Regions from separate parts of the Homo sapiens genome. Here regions 1, 2, 3 and 4 are each linked to region 5. The links are contacts of gene promoters, found by promoter capture Hi-C in blood cells and fetal thymus (Javierre and others, 2016). All regions are on one chromosome and are shown on one strand. The core of a region is centred on a gene start or on the middle of the fragment in contact, and the rest is flanking DNA. Distances in the headings are between cores, read along the strand shown. Region 1 overlaps ARMC10 (armadillo repeat containing 10). Region 2 overlaps NAPEPLD (N-acyl phosphatidylethanolamine phospholipase D). Region 3 overlaps LOC105375434. Region 4 overlaps NAPEPLD (N-acyl phosphatidylethanolamine phospholipase D). Region 5 holds the start of PMPCB (peptidase, mitochondrial processing subunit beta).

Region 1 (2,700 bases), core at 42-2,541, 200 kb after region 5:
GTTACATATGTATACTTGTGCCATGCTGGTGCACTGCACCCACTAACTCGTCATCTAGCATTAGGTATATCTCCCAATGCTATCCCTCCCCCCTCCCCCCACCCCACAACAGTCCCCAGAGTGTGATGTTCCCCTTCCTGTGTCCATGTGTTCTCATTGTTCAATTCCCACCTATGAGTGAGAATATACAGTGTTTGGTTTTTTGTTCTTGCGATAGTTTACTGAGAATGATGATTTCCAATTTTGTCCATGTCCCTACAAAGGACATGAACTCATCATTTTTTATGGCTGCATAGTATTCCATGGTGTATATGTGCCACATTTTCTTAATCCAGTCTATCATTGTTGGACATTCGGGTTGGTTCCAAGTCTTTTAAAAACAAAGGCCATGTGAAACCATACTTTCTACAAGATACCTGGAACTAAAATAAGCATAGAGGGGGGTACTAACTCAGGGAAATGGGACAAATGTGCTCTTCACTAGAGCTGGGAAGGAACCTGGATATTATTTTAGAAAAATTTTTTATTACAAAGGCAACAGATGTTTACCATAGCACTTTCAAAAAAATAGAAAACCACAAAGAAAAAGAAAATTTACCCGTATTTACATAACCAGAAATGATCACGATTAAGTGTTGGTATTTTTGGCCAGGTGCGGTGGCGCATGCCTGCATTCCCAGCACTTTGGGAGGCCAAGGTGGGCAGATCACTTGAGCTCAGGAGTTCAAGAGCAACATGGGCAACATGGCAAAACCCCGTCTCTACCAAAAATACAAAAATCAGCCAGGCGTGGTGGCATGTGACCAAAGTCCCAGGGAGGCTGAGGTAGGAGGATTGTTTGAGCCTGGAAGCTCAAGGCTGCAGTGAGCAGAGATCATGCCACTGCAATCTAGCCTGGGCAACAGAGTGAGATTCTGTGTCAAAAAAGAGAAAGAAAAGTTTTAGTATTTTCTTTTTGGTCTTTTATGCAAATATCCTGTATAGTCACAATTTCTTTGATCATGTTGTAGATACTAATTTATTTGAGGATGACATAATACTTTGCTTAATTTTACTGTTTTTATCAAATATTTCTTTATTTTTAGAAAATTACTACTTGGTCATGATAAAAATTTTAAGTAATGCAAAAGAGAACAAGGTAAAAACAAAAGCCACCATGCTTTTGGCCCCTTCCAATCCTCAGCAGTGTCCACTGGTAACATTTCTTGAATATGCAGAGATTGTCTTTTTCAAAGAGATGCTATTAATAAATTAAGGCCTCTGGGGTTGAAAGAGTAAAGGAGACTTCTGACCCTTCTTTAGTGCACTCCGTGGAGGTCACTATCAGATCTCATCTGGCCTGACTGACTATCAGCAACACTAGGAATAAGTGTTAGGAAAAAAACACCTGGCTCCAATGTCAATGAAGTTTCAATTAGAAAAATAGGAACAGGAGGTATGAAATAGGATGGTCCTGAACTTACGAAATAAGCCTGGATGAAGTCAAAATCTAAGACCCACTAATAGTCAATGAGGGCAGGTATACAACCAGGGAATAGCAACAGCAATAGCTATTTGGTATCCTGTATTAAAATCTGATGTTGCTATTCTTTGTAGAAGGGAGTTAAATATGAGAAAAAAATATATATACAGTTAGAGTACAACTACAGATTAAACAAATATATGGATTTTGGTTTGAAACCATATTAAGACATGTTTTTTTTCCTCGTCACATGCACCATCTTGTGGTGACACTAGGACATTTTAAACCATTAGTTTTGTTTTCATTGAGGATGTAACAAGCACACAGTTTATGTTAATCCTCCACTATCTGCATTAAGTTATCAATCAGTGGTGTACCCAAACGGTTATTACAGTACAGTGAGATCCCTGACTTAAGCAAAATACGATATTTAAACATTCATTTTAGTGGTTATTTACTAAGAAAATACCTAAATCAGACACACTTTCCCACTAACAAATGGATGGCTATCCAAAAGTTCATTTGCAAGTTGGAACTTTAAACTCAATTTTTATGGAAAATCAATGTTGTAATTGGTAGGTATGTTCCAAGGCAGACCAAGAAAGCAAATTTTCTATCCTAGAAATACTGTACTAAGCAATGTAATGGAAAAACACAACACAACAAAACAAAAATAGAACATACTATTGTGGTCTGGGTCATCTTTTAAAAAGTCAAAAAATATATGAAAACACAGACGATGTCTGAGACAGATATATACAGCCCCAAGGCCAGACTTGCCTGGCTGAACTCAGCCTGGCTCTGGACTCAGAGTTCCTCCTGAGGTTCTGGGTAAAGCAGCTGCAGAGTCAGGCAGAGGAGAGATTTCTCCTACAGTGGCAACAACATACAGTAAAGAGGGAAGGAGTTTCCCCAGGGGTTCAGGGGCTGGAAGTTATCTTGTTCCACTGGAGACAGACATGCTGATGCACGTTGGAAACTGCCTGGGAATGGTGCAATATTGCTAGAAGACTACTCTTACATTTAATTTTCAATACCTTTTGGTACATCTTGGATCACATCCAAACAAGTTTGGCTATTGGAAAAGAGGAAAGTCCATGTACAAACACCTTGGAAACATAAAAGCAGGACTACAGTAAGACTCTCCTGTAATCACATCTTGATAAACTCAAAAATAACTGCAGTGATGTTGAATATTTGGAGTATGGCTTCACATTTGGTCTTTCTAAAATGCTTAT
Region 2 (2,700 bases), core at 125-2,624, 180 kb after region 5:
TGACCAAGAAGTTACCACCCCATTCCTAGAAAGTTCTAAATAATCTGCCCTTTAATTTGCATTAACCCATTCCCTAATTTACATATAATTAAAAGTGGGTATAAGTGAGTGTAAATACAGTTACCAACCCCTCATATGTTGCCAACTCTGAGTGCACTTACTGCCTATAACTTAGCACTGCTCCTCAAGGAGCAGTATCGTTTAAAAAAAATTGCTGGCCAGCACCACTGGCTTGCCGTTGAATTATATTTCGTTTGTGAGGCCAAAAACCCTCCTGGGCTAAGCCTCAATTTTGGGGCTCGCCTCCCCTGCATCATCAGTAAGTTGTATCTTCAGATAGATCCAGTAAAATCAAAATATACGTGAAACAAAAATCTCACTATTCAGAGGGGAGTTTGCTTGAGACTTACTTATTTTATAGCAATTTGTACAAGAAAGACTTTTGCTTGTTTTATTTTTCAGCAGAAAGTGTACCAAAGGGAGATGGTTTTGCCTCCTGTGACTTAATTCCTGTGCAGAATTTGTTTTGTTTTTACAATCTAGCCTTGACCTGGCCTTCAGACTTGGTTTCTAGCTCATCCTCCCCAAAACTGCATGTTTTATCCCAGTGGTTCTTAATTCTCAACATCCATAGTCCTGCGCAGAATCTTAAAGTTTGGTTAAGTGAAACAGATTTTAGAATTTAGTGTATATCTCAAAGGTCAGAATTAAGAAATTGCCATGTTTCTTCAGGTGGTTTATGAAATACCAGCATGTAGACCCAGAAGAAGCTGTAAGGATTCACACTGATGTCCAAACAAAGAAATCTATGGCAATTCACTGGGGAACTTTTGCCTTAGCAAATGAGGTAAGTTTGATTGCGATAAAAATAACTTTGTGTGTTTGACCAATGATAGGATTCAGGCATCACTGTTCCTTAGTTTTCAGACCCAAGACTCTGGAATCAGATACTGCACAGTCATCACAGTCACTGCATGAATTAGGGTGGTAAATCATACTAATTAGTAGAACAATACACACATATACAGTCAGAAAAAAAAAACAACACAACCTCATTGTGTTTTCTTTTGGCTTATTTCTGAAGTTAGTAAAGCTTGTATTTGTATAACCAAAAATCTGTATGTGGTCTGGAGACTAGAAAAGCAAGCCATCATGTCTCACCCCTCAAGCAGGCTCTCATGCTAGCAGAAGACAGAAGTCATGTATGTGATACAGATGTTAGAAGGGGAAAGTGCTGTAATGTGGAACAGATGAGATGGTCTCAGAATCAGGATGTTTGCTGATGGCAGGGATCAGAGAGGGCGTGATGGAATAAGTGACATTTGAACTTGGCTCTGAGAGGGCAGGGAGGAAGGCATTTTCAGAGGAGGAAAGGGCAGAGCATAGGCTCGGAGGCAGCTAGTGTGGGGAGTACTTGAATCAGTTCAGCAGGAGAGTGGAGGGCAATAGGGAGAAGTAAGGCTAGTGTGGAACTTTCTAGAAATATATTCAGTAAACATTGACTCGGTGTCTGCTATGTGCCAGGCATAGGGATAAATGTGATTTTATTCCTAGATTAAAACAGAAGAGATAATTTTTCCTTAAGGCAGATGGACCCTAGAACTCTGCCACTAGCCTGGGTCCTGGGATCAAGCAGAGGATAGTATAAAGCTTTCTCTCCTTTCCTGGATCCAAGGTCTTCTCTAAACAAAACTTAGAAATGTATGGTTAGGCCCAGTGCAGTGGCTCACACCTGTAATCCCAGCACTTTGGGAGGCTGAGGCAGGTGGATCACTTGAGGTCAGGAGTTCGAGACCAGCCTGGCCAACATGGCGAAACCCCGTCTCTACTAAAAATACAAAATAGCCAGGCGTGGTGGTGCGTGCCTGTAATCCCAGCTACTCGGGAGGCTGAGGCAGGAGAATCGCCTGAACCCAGGAAGTAGAGGTTGCAGTAAGTCGAGATTGTGCCACTATACTCCAGCCTGGGCAAAAGAGTGAGATTTGGCTGGGCACCTGTGGCTCACACCTGTAATCCCAGCACTTTGGGAGTCTGAGGCGGGTGGATCACCTGAGGTCAGGAGTTCGAGACCAGCCTGGCCAACATGATGAAAACCCATCTCTAATAAAATTAGCTGGGCGTGGTGGCAGGCGCCTATAATTCCAGCTACTCGGGAGCCTGAGGCAGGAGAATAACTTGAACCTGGGAGACAGAGGTTGCAGTGAGCCGAGATTACGGCACTTCCTTCCAGCCTGGGTGAAAGAGCGAAACTCTGTCTTGAGAAAAAAAAAAAAAAAAAAAGTGAGACTCTGTCTTAAAAAAAAAAGTGAGACTCTGTCTTTAAAAAAAAAAAAAGTGTGGTTAGGACTTGGCTTCTTTACTTTCTGTGGCATCTTCCACATCCCAGAGCCTCTCTGCAGGAACTCAGTGTTTTCTTGCAGTTTTAGTTACTCCTCTGTCTCACTTATGGCCTGCCCTCTCCCAAAGATGCAGTGTGTTCCAAAATTACCTAATACACTGCCTGCCCATTCCCCCACTCCCTAATCAAAATTCCTGTGCCATGAGGCAGCAACCCTGAGCCACAATGCAGCAATTCTTGGCCACTGTTGGGAGAAGGAATAGAATAATGACTAACCATAGGGTTGTGGGGAGGATAAATGAGAATATAAATGTGGGTGTGTGGGTGCGTATTTGGAGAAGGGAGAAGTTTAAGACTGGTTT
Region 3 (2,700 bases), core at 44-2,543, 150 kb after region 5:
TCGGAACAAAACAGGATAGGGATTTTCACAGTGCTTTTCTATACAATGTCTGCAATCTGTAGATAATATAACCAATTACGTCAGGGGTCGATCTTTAACTACCAGGCCCAGGGTGTGGTGCCTGGCTGTCTGCTTGTGGATTTCATTTCTGCCTTTTAGTTTTTACTTTTTCTTTCTTTGGAGGCAGAAACTGGGCATAAGACAATATGAGGGGTGGTCTCCTCCCTTAAGAAGAGCGTCCCCAGGAGAAACAAGCTTGACCACTATGCTGTCACAGAGTTTCCTCTGACCACTGAGTCTGCCATGAAGAAGATAGAAGACAACAACACACTTGTGTTCACTGTGGATGTTAAAGCCACCAAGCACCAGATCAAACAGGCTGTGAAGAAGCTCTATGACACTGATGTGGCCAAAGTCCATGCCCTGATTAGGCCTGATGCAGGAAGAAGGCATAAGCTCCACTGGCTCCTGATTACAATGCTTTGGATATTGCCAACAAAATTGGGATCAACTTTGTTGCTGACCCAACAAAACTGGGATATTGCCAACAAAATTGGGGTCATCTAAACTGAGTCCAGCTGGCTAATTATAAATACATGTATCTTTTCACCAGGTTCATGCCTCTTTGTCAACTTCTGGTTGGGCTGGGGAGGCCATTCAAGGTACTGAGGTTGTAATAGGGCCTGGGCAAGACTCCTGTTCTACTTATCCTTTTGGAACACTCACTCTGCCACTCCACCATACTTGATCACTCCAGAGATCTTTATGACCAGAGCTAGTTGTCCTAAGAAAACCAGAACTTGTCTCCATGGTAGAGGTAAGAAAACAAGAAGCTGCCGGGTGGCGGTGGCTCAAGCCTATCACTTTGGGAGGCCCAGGCGGGCAAATCACTTGAGGCCAGGAGTTCGAGATCAGCCTGGCCAACATGGTGAAACCCCATGTCCACTAAAAAGACAAAAATTAGCCGGGCATGGTGGTGGGCACCTGTAGTCCCAGCTACTCAGGAGGCTGAGGCAGGAGAATCTGGGAGGCAGAGGTTGCAGCGAGCCAAGATCTGGCCACTGCACTTCAGCCTGGGTGACAGAACGAGACTCCGTCTCAAAAAAAAAAGAAAAAAGAAGAGGCTTTACAAGAACCCCTTCTTTTATCCCTGGAAGAGGCTGTGTGTGAAACCAATGCCCACAGTTTGAAGGGCATTAGCATTCATCTTAGGGGAGTGTGGGTTGGCTGGCTTTCAGGTAGCACTTTGACCTCACACACCCATCTACTATGTCCAACTGGTCTGTCTGCTTCCCTCAGCCTTAACCAATAAAGGACAAGGACTTAAAAAAAAAGAGTGGGAGTGAGGGGAACAAAGGGCATCTTTTTTTTTTTTTTTTTTTTGAGACAGAGTCTTGCTCTGTCTACCAGGCTGGAGTGCAGTGGTGCCATCTTTGCTCACTGCAACCTCCATCTCTGGGGTTCAAGCAGTTCTACTGCCTCAGCCTCCCTAGTAGCTGGGATTACAGGTGAGCTCCACTATGCCTAGCTAGTTTTTGTATTTTTACTTGAGACAGGGTTTCGCCATGTTGGCCAGGCTGGTCTCGAACTCCTGACCTCAGGTGATCCTCCTGCCTTGGCCTCCCAAAGTGCTGGAATTACAGGCGTGAGCCACTGCGCCCAGCTTTTTTTTTTTTTTTGGGGAAATGGGGTCTTCTCTGTTGCCCAGGCTGGAGTGTAGTGGCGTGATCACAGCTCACTGCGGCCTTGATCTCCCAGGCTCAATCGATCCTCCCACCTCAGCCTCTGGAGTAGCTGGGACCACAAGGGCGGGCCATCAAGGCTGGCTACTTTTTTTTTTTTTTAATTATTATTTGTAGAGATGAAGTCTCGCTATGTTGCCCAAGTTGGTCTCCAACTCCTGGGCTCTAAGGATTCTCCTGCCTTGCCCTCCCAAAGTGCCGGGATTACTTCTCCGTTGCTTAGTCAAGAACACTATGAAGAACTTTTGAGTAGTAACTTCAACTTACCCTTTGGGTTTGTATGTATGCTGTTACTTTTTTTTTTTTCTTCTGTTGCACAAAGGTATTATTCACCTTATGCAGTTTCAGCTCCACCCAGGTGCAAGCAGCTCTTAATCACCCTTAAGTTCAGCAGCCACTCTAAGCTAGCCTGAGGAGATAAAGTCCACACTTGACATACAGTTCTTTACATTCCTCCAATGTCACACAGGCACATTCACTTTCAAAATGCAGAATAGTTTGGTCTGCATTTTTCTGCCAGTCTTATCTGCATTTAGAACCTGTGGTGGTGGTTTCTTTTTTGCCAAGATAACCCCAGGGACAAGCTTTTTTTTTTTTTTTTGACCCTGGCACACCCCAGGACTTTTATAATCTTTTTGCCCAACAACCCATTGTTGAATTTTACTTCGACATGCCTGTACTTTACTTCTTGAAACAACTAATTTCATTCTGCAGTTTAAAAAGCAAATCCAGTAAGAAACTCAGAATCACAATCGTATGCTCTTTCATAGTTATCCTAGCGTTAAAAAAGATGCAAATTTAGATGAGAACCGTGTGTACCAGGGGGCTGTGACATCATTTTAAAAGTAAACGATCACACAGTGAACAATGCCGTGCTCCCATTAATATTCAATACGTACTGTACAACATTTCAAATTAGAGTTTAGTTTCTTCGCTACCAGGATCCTAGCGCCATAGG
Region 4 (2,700 bases), core at 101-2,600, 160 kb after region 5:
GCTCAGGCTGGAATCTCGGCTCACTGCAACCTCTGCCTCCAGGGTTCAAGTGATTTTCCTGCCTTAGCCTCCTGAGTAGCTGGGACTACAGGCATACACCACCATGCCTAGCTAATTTTTGTATTTTTAGTAGAGATGGGGTTTCACCATGTTGGCCAGGCTGGTCTCGAACTCCCGACCTGAGGTGATCCACCTGCCTCGGCCTGCCAAAGTGCTGGGATTACAGGCATGAGCCACTGTGCCTGGCTAGAACATTTGTATTTTATATTTAAAATACAATTGTCACAGGGGTTTGTTACCTTTAAATTTTCTTCTGGATTCTAGTTTTCTAGAACAAATTTAGCATTTGGTATGTTTATAACTAACTGTTGTTCACAGAGGGAAAGAGGATGAGCAATTAATTATGCTTCTGATTATATTTAATTATCAAGAGCAATGTTTTCACTCCTGTCCCAACGTATTTATTTTCCAACACAAAATGCTATATTTCATCCATTTTGAGATAGACATTTTATTCACATTTTAACACCACTGATATCACTATATGTCATGTATAACGTGTGACCTAACTATAATTGATAACATTTTTACTTCCTTAGTGGCACATGACACATCAGGGTGCCTTACAATTCATGGTATTTTTATTTATTTATTACTTATTTGTTTAGATTGCTCTTTCAGAATTCATGGATCTTAAATTGAATCAAAATCAGTACAATGGAAAGATCTTTATCAAGTTTTAAAGCACTTTTTGAAACACAGGTTGTTTACAGTTTTTGTGTATTCATGTACACATCTACTTTCAGTTGGTGTTGGCCTGAAATCAAGGGTGGATTATTTTCATTTACATTGTTAATTTTGGAAACAGTTACATAACAAGAAATAGTTTGAAATTTGCCACATTTAATTACAGAAACTCTAGCTAGATATGTTAAGGGGTTTGTCAAGCTTGAAGAGCTCAAAGCTAGTTAACACAGGACCATACAGACAACCCACTCTTCCTCATTCCTACTTTTTCTGTCATTTTATCTGTGGTCTTCTGAGTGCCCAGAAGACACTGGGCATGAGGAGCGTTCTTGTGTGACCCACTCTCGGGCTGAGGCTCCTTTGTCACTGGAGCACCTGTTGGCAGAGCGTGTCATTTTGCACATTCAGCAAATGGGCTCCCAGTATTTTTCCTCCAGAAAAACCAGTCCAGAGTTTCAAGGCTCAGGTTTTACGTGCTTCTGCTCCTTCTTGCCCTTTCAACAGTGCATCGTGTGAAATGGTGTTTCATAGTTTGATCATTTTGTGTTGCTTTAACATCTGTCATGGATGGCAGTCCATAATCCTGTGACTATACATTTCCCCATACCCCAAGGATATGACAACGTGGCAGTTGGTCGCCCTGAAGTGGGTACATGATACATCTGAGGAAATAGTTTCAGGCCGTGTTTATGGAGCAGAGGAGAGTGTGGAGAGTGTGGGTAAGGTTAGAAACACAGACCCTGTGAACCATCATGCTGACCTTTGCCCTCAAAAAACCCTTTGGAGGTTTTTTCGTTTTGTTTGTATCAGATTTTTTTGTTTTTTGTTTTTTAAAGAGCATTTCTGAAAACTGGACTTTGTGTGTGTTAGGGGAGGGGGTTTGTTAGGAGAGGATGGCTATTTGGTAATGAGACCTGTTTCCACAGATTGATTGGGGTGAAAGACTGAGTGGATGGGAGGTGAGGAAATGGAGATTGTGTGAATAGACAACTTTGAAAAAGCTTATTATTTAGAGAGAAGAAAGATCACTGCACCAATTTTTTCTTTTCTCTTCTTTTTGTTTCTTTTCTTTCTTTCTTTCTTTGAGACGGAGTCTCGCTCTGTCGCCCAGGCTGGAGTGCAGTGGCATGATAACAGCTCACTGCAGCCTCAACTTCCTGGGCTCAAGGGATCCTCCCAGTAGCTGGGACTACAGGCCTGCAACACCACAGTGGGCTAATTTATTTATTTTTATTTTTATTTTTTATTTTATTTATTTATTTATTTTTACCCCTAAAGCAGCCTGAATCCATTTCCTTTGGGTGTCAATGAGGACTTTCTCTTGGGTTCTTGCTTTCCCATGACCTCAAACCCTTCTCAAACTCACTGGGTCACAATCCACCTTGATTAGTGGTGCTGCCATTTCTGACTCTTCCCACTCTCCTCCTGACCAACCAGCCCTACAAAGTCCAAAATTTGTGACTATCCAAATACTCTCAAGTCTTACTGATTCATCTTCTTTGTTGTCTCTTGGATTTATTCTGCTTTTTCTCTTCTCATTGCACTGCCTCCTCATCTTTTGACTGGGTTGCTATTCACTATTAAAAAGTGGGGATTATAATACCTACCTTGAGGGTTTGCTAGGAGCATGAGTTTAAATGAAATAGGTGAAATATGTGGCATGGTGGTTCAGTGTTATTGGGTGTTCTAGGCTTCTTCTGTTTTCATTCAATCCATCTCCCAAGCTCCAGTTTTTAGCCACTTCCTTTCTTTTTAATCCTGCTATCAGAGTTGTCTTCCCTAAGTACATCATTTTCTTTTTAGACGGAGTCTCCGCAACCTCCGCCTCCTGGGTTCAAGCAATTCTCCTGCCTCAGGCTCCCAAGTTGCTGTGACTGCAGGCACGCGCCACCACGCCCGACTAATTTTTGAATTTTTAGTAGAGACGAGCCTTCACTGTGTTGGCCAGGCTAG
Region 5 (2,700 bases), core at 161-2,660:
CTCATGGAAATCTGTCAAGGCAAAATAACTGTCACCCTTTTTGAACCACCAGCCAACGAAAAAGCTAAAGATTAAAATCAACAATTTGCTACGCTAAATGAAGGGTCACTTAGAGAAGGTTGCCTGAGTCACTTACTGTGCATGTTGAGAGCCCAGAGTCTTCCGAAGCTACTCTGAGTCCACTTTCTAAACATGTTACTCTTGTTTCAGGAACATTCAGAACAACTTGGGTAGCAGCCTGTGTACTTCTTAATCTGTTCTCTCCAAAATATAATGACTGGTTGGGGGTAGGAAGTGGAAGAGACAAAGCAAAACACATTACTAATCTGATATTAAATGTTGCTTTTAAAACCAAATCTATTTTAAATAGGCTGTCTCTATAAAAGAATCTTTCTTCTTGAATTTTGGTTCCACTGAGATCTCTGCCTGGCCTAGAAACATCTGTCACCAGCCACTGTCCTAAAGCCAGCAACGTGTTTATAAACATGCCCTTCCCTCAGGGAAGATGAGCAATTATTATCATTACCCAGAGAGAAATTGACTTTATTTCACTACCTCTCCTAGAAATGTTTTATATTCATTATGGAGAAAACAAGCAGGAAAAAAAAAAAGAGAGGGAAACTATGTAAAACTACCTACACACAAGACAAAACTGACACTCGGGTTTTCATTGTTCAAGAAAAGCAACAGGGTTTGGAAATGGTTAAAAAAAAAAAGAGAGAGAGGATAGGAAGATGGGTCGATGTTCAAAATGCAAATGACTGGCTTTTCGGCCAGAAACTATTCGCCTTTCAGCAGTTTTTCTTTGCCCTTATACAAAAGTCTCACATCCCTTTGCTTAAAGTCAGAGGCTCTCTCATGAGAAAAATGCAAATACATAAAAAATTTTACTTCATTGATGTCCAGGTTCGCGGGAAGCCCAGCTGAGGACGAAGTTCAGTCTTAGGCAAAAATAGAACTCTGGAGCGGTACCCATTTCACTTTTTAGTTTTCCCCAATTTGCAAGCACTACGTTTTTAGTGGTCAAACATGCACTCCTCAGTAGCTGGCGGGAGGAGCCGAAAACCAGGGTCATCCCACACGTCACTAGCAGGTCTCCTGGCGGGTGGCCACAAGCCAGTCACCCCCGGCCAGTTCAGCAGCCCCAGGCCGCCTGGCGCCCGGCGGGTCCGGGTCGAGGAGGCCCTGCCCGACCCACTGTTCGGATCTGTGGCGCCGACTCTCAGGTGCGCTGCGCCGGGTCTGGCGAGATCTCGAGGACAGGACCGGCCTGGAGGGAAGCTCACCCGTCCCGCAGCGCCTCGGATTAGAAGACTCTCGCTGAAACCCCAGAGCCGCCGCCGCGCCGCGGATGACAACACCACTCGAGCCGCCGCAGCCGCCATTTCTGCTAGAAGGAAGGTAGAGGATGAAGGATGTGCTTCCGGGGTCGCGACCTGAGGTCCCAGAGCAGGGAGGTGGGCTCCACCTTGTGGCCGTGATGGGAATGACACTCCTCGAAGCGGTTGTGAAAGCAATCAGGGCCCGACCATGATGCTGAGCGGTCTTTACCAAATGAATTGGGGAGTCTGCAGAAGCCCCTTTATCATCAGTTATTTTATCGATCGCCTACTAAGTGCAAGGCACAAATGCGGTGGAATGAAAGGTAACCTGATGCAATATATCTCACTGGTGGATGGAATTGATTGAAAACAGTGGAATAATATTCATAAGTCACTGCCTTTAAAGGAAAAGTCTAGTGGGAGAGACAGATGCCGTGAGGGGAGGAAACGATGTATCCGTGTTGACCACTATCCACTCTTCGAACCTCTACAATATGGCTCATCTCATTCCATAGAAATTGCCCTTGGTAAGGTCACTAATTGCTAAAAGTTGGACACTTTACAGACTTATGTTACAGTCCTGTTGGAGGATTTGACATTGTTGGCTTCTTTGAAATTCTCTTTTCTCAATATATTCTAGAGCTCCACCTCCTCATAGTTCCCTCTGCACCTTCTTGGACTCCTCTTTATTCACAGATCTGTTTTTTGTTTTTGTTTTTGTTTTTGAGATGGAGTTTCACTCTTGTTGCCCAGGCTGGAGTGCAGTGGTGCAATCTCAGCTCACTGCAACCTCTGCCTCCTGGGTTCAAGCAATTCTCCTGCCTCAGCCTCCCAGGTAGCTGGGATTACAGGCATGTGCCACCACGCCTGGCTACTTTGTATTTTTAGTAGAGATGGGGTTTCACCATATTGGTCAGGCTGGTTTTGAACTCCTAACCTCAGGTAATCCACCCACCTCCACCTCCCAAAGTGCTAGGATTACAGGCGTGAGCCACTGCGCCCAGCCCACAGATCTCTCAAGGAACTAAAAATTGCAAATGCTTTTCTAACTCAGGTAGATGGTATAGTGCTTATTTTGCAATTAAGACACTGAAGTCAAATAACTTGCCCCAGGTTACCCTGCTAGTAATAGGTTAACGCCAAAGACTGTGCTGTGAAACACTACATTTTGCCCTAAAAGTTGGTGTTTGCCAGGACTCTAAGCCTCTTCTACTGAACATTCTCCCTCTGGGTTTTTCCCTCCACTTCAAGACCTGTCTGCCCAACCCAGGCCTTTCTCTTGAGCTCCAGCCCACTTAACCATCAACTACTAGGAAACTACACTTGAATACCCCATTGGAAACTCAATATCAACTTGTCCAAAAGGGAATTCACTGTG

The links. The method cuts DNA at HindIII sites, captures the fragments that hold promoters and counts their contacts. A CHiCAGO score of 5 or more calls a contact.
Region 1: a contact is called between a fragment that was not itself captured here and the fragment with the promoter of PMPCB in region 5, in 1 of 17 cell types (erythroblasts). The highest score is 7.0, in erythroblasts.
Region 2: a fragment that was not itself captured here is called in contact with the fragment with the promoter of PMPCB in region 5 in 1 of 17 cell types (erythroblasts); the score reaches 5.1 in erythroblasts.
Region 3: a fragment that was not itself captured here is called in contact with the fragment with the promoter of PMPCB in region 5 in 1 of 17 cell types (erythroblasts); the score reaches 5.9 in erythroblasts.
Region 4: a fragment that was not itself captured here is called in contact with the fragment with the promoter of PMPCB in region 5 in 1 of 17 cell types (erythroblasts); the score reaches 5.1 in erythroblasts.

The regions. Positions count from the first base shown.
Region 1 is chr7:103,093,340-103,096,039 of GRCh38, reverse strand. All of the region lies in intron 5 of ARMC10 (armadillo repeat containing 10), which reads right to left. Among named protein-coding and RNA genes, the nearest start is that of ARMC10, 20 kb to the right of the region's middle. The HindIII fragment of the contact is 4,149 bases long and covers 1-2,700 here.
Region 2 is chr7:103,113,207-103,115,906 of GRCh38, reverse strand. NAPEPLD (N-acyl phosphatidylethanolamine phospholipase D) reads left to right here. Exons shown (of 5, transcript NM_001122838.3): 4 at 733-847. Among named protein-coding and RNA genes, the nearest start is that of NAPEPLD, 35 kb to the left of the region's middle. The HindIII fragment of the contact is 557 bases long and covers 1,096-1,652 here.
Region 3 is chr7:103,149,874-103,152,573 of GRCh38, reverse strand. It overlaps LOC105375434, which reads right to left. Exons shown (of 3, transcript XM_047421168.1): 2 at 2,010-2,700. It also overlaps a transcript of NAPEPLD not described here and the pseudogene RPL23AP95. Among named protein-coding and RNA genes, the nearest start is that of NAPEPLD, 2.1 kb to the right of the region's middle. The HindIII fragment of the contact is 2,071 bases long and covers 258-2,328 here.
Region 4 is chr7:103,131,916-103,134,615 of GRCh38, reverse strand. The region is part of intron 1 of NAPEPLD (N-acyl phosphatidylethanolamine phospholipase D); the gene reads left to right. Among named protein-coding and RNA genes, the nearest start is that of NAPEPLD, 16 kb to the left of the region's middle. The HindIII fragment of the contact is 800 bases long and covers 951-1,750 here.
Region 5 is chr7:103,296,145-103,298,844 of GRCh38, reverse strand. It overlaps PMPCB (peptidase, mitochondrial processing subunit beta), which reads right to left and starts at 1,410. Exons shown (of 13, transcript NM_004279.3): 1 at 1,287-1,410; 2 at 137-277. The coding sequence starts at 1,385. RefSeq lists enhancers at 1,156-1,455, 1,556-1,615. The HindIII fragment of the contact is 11,349 bases long and covers 1-2,700 here.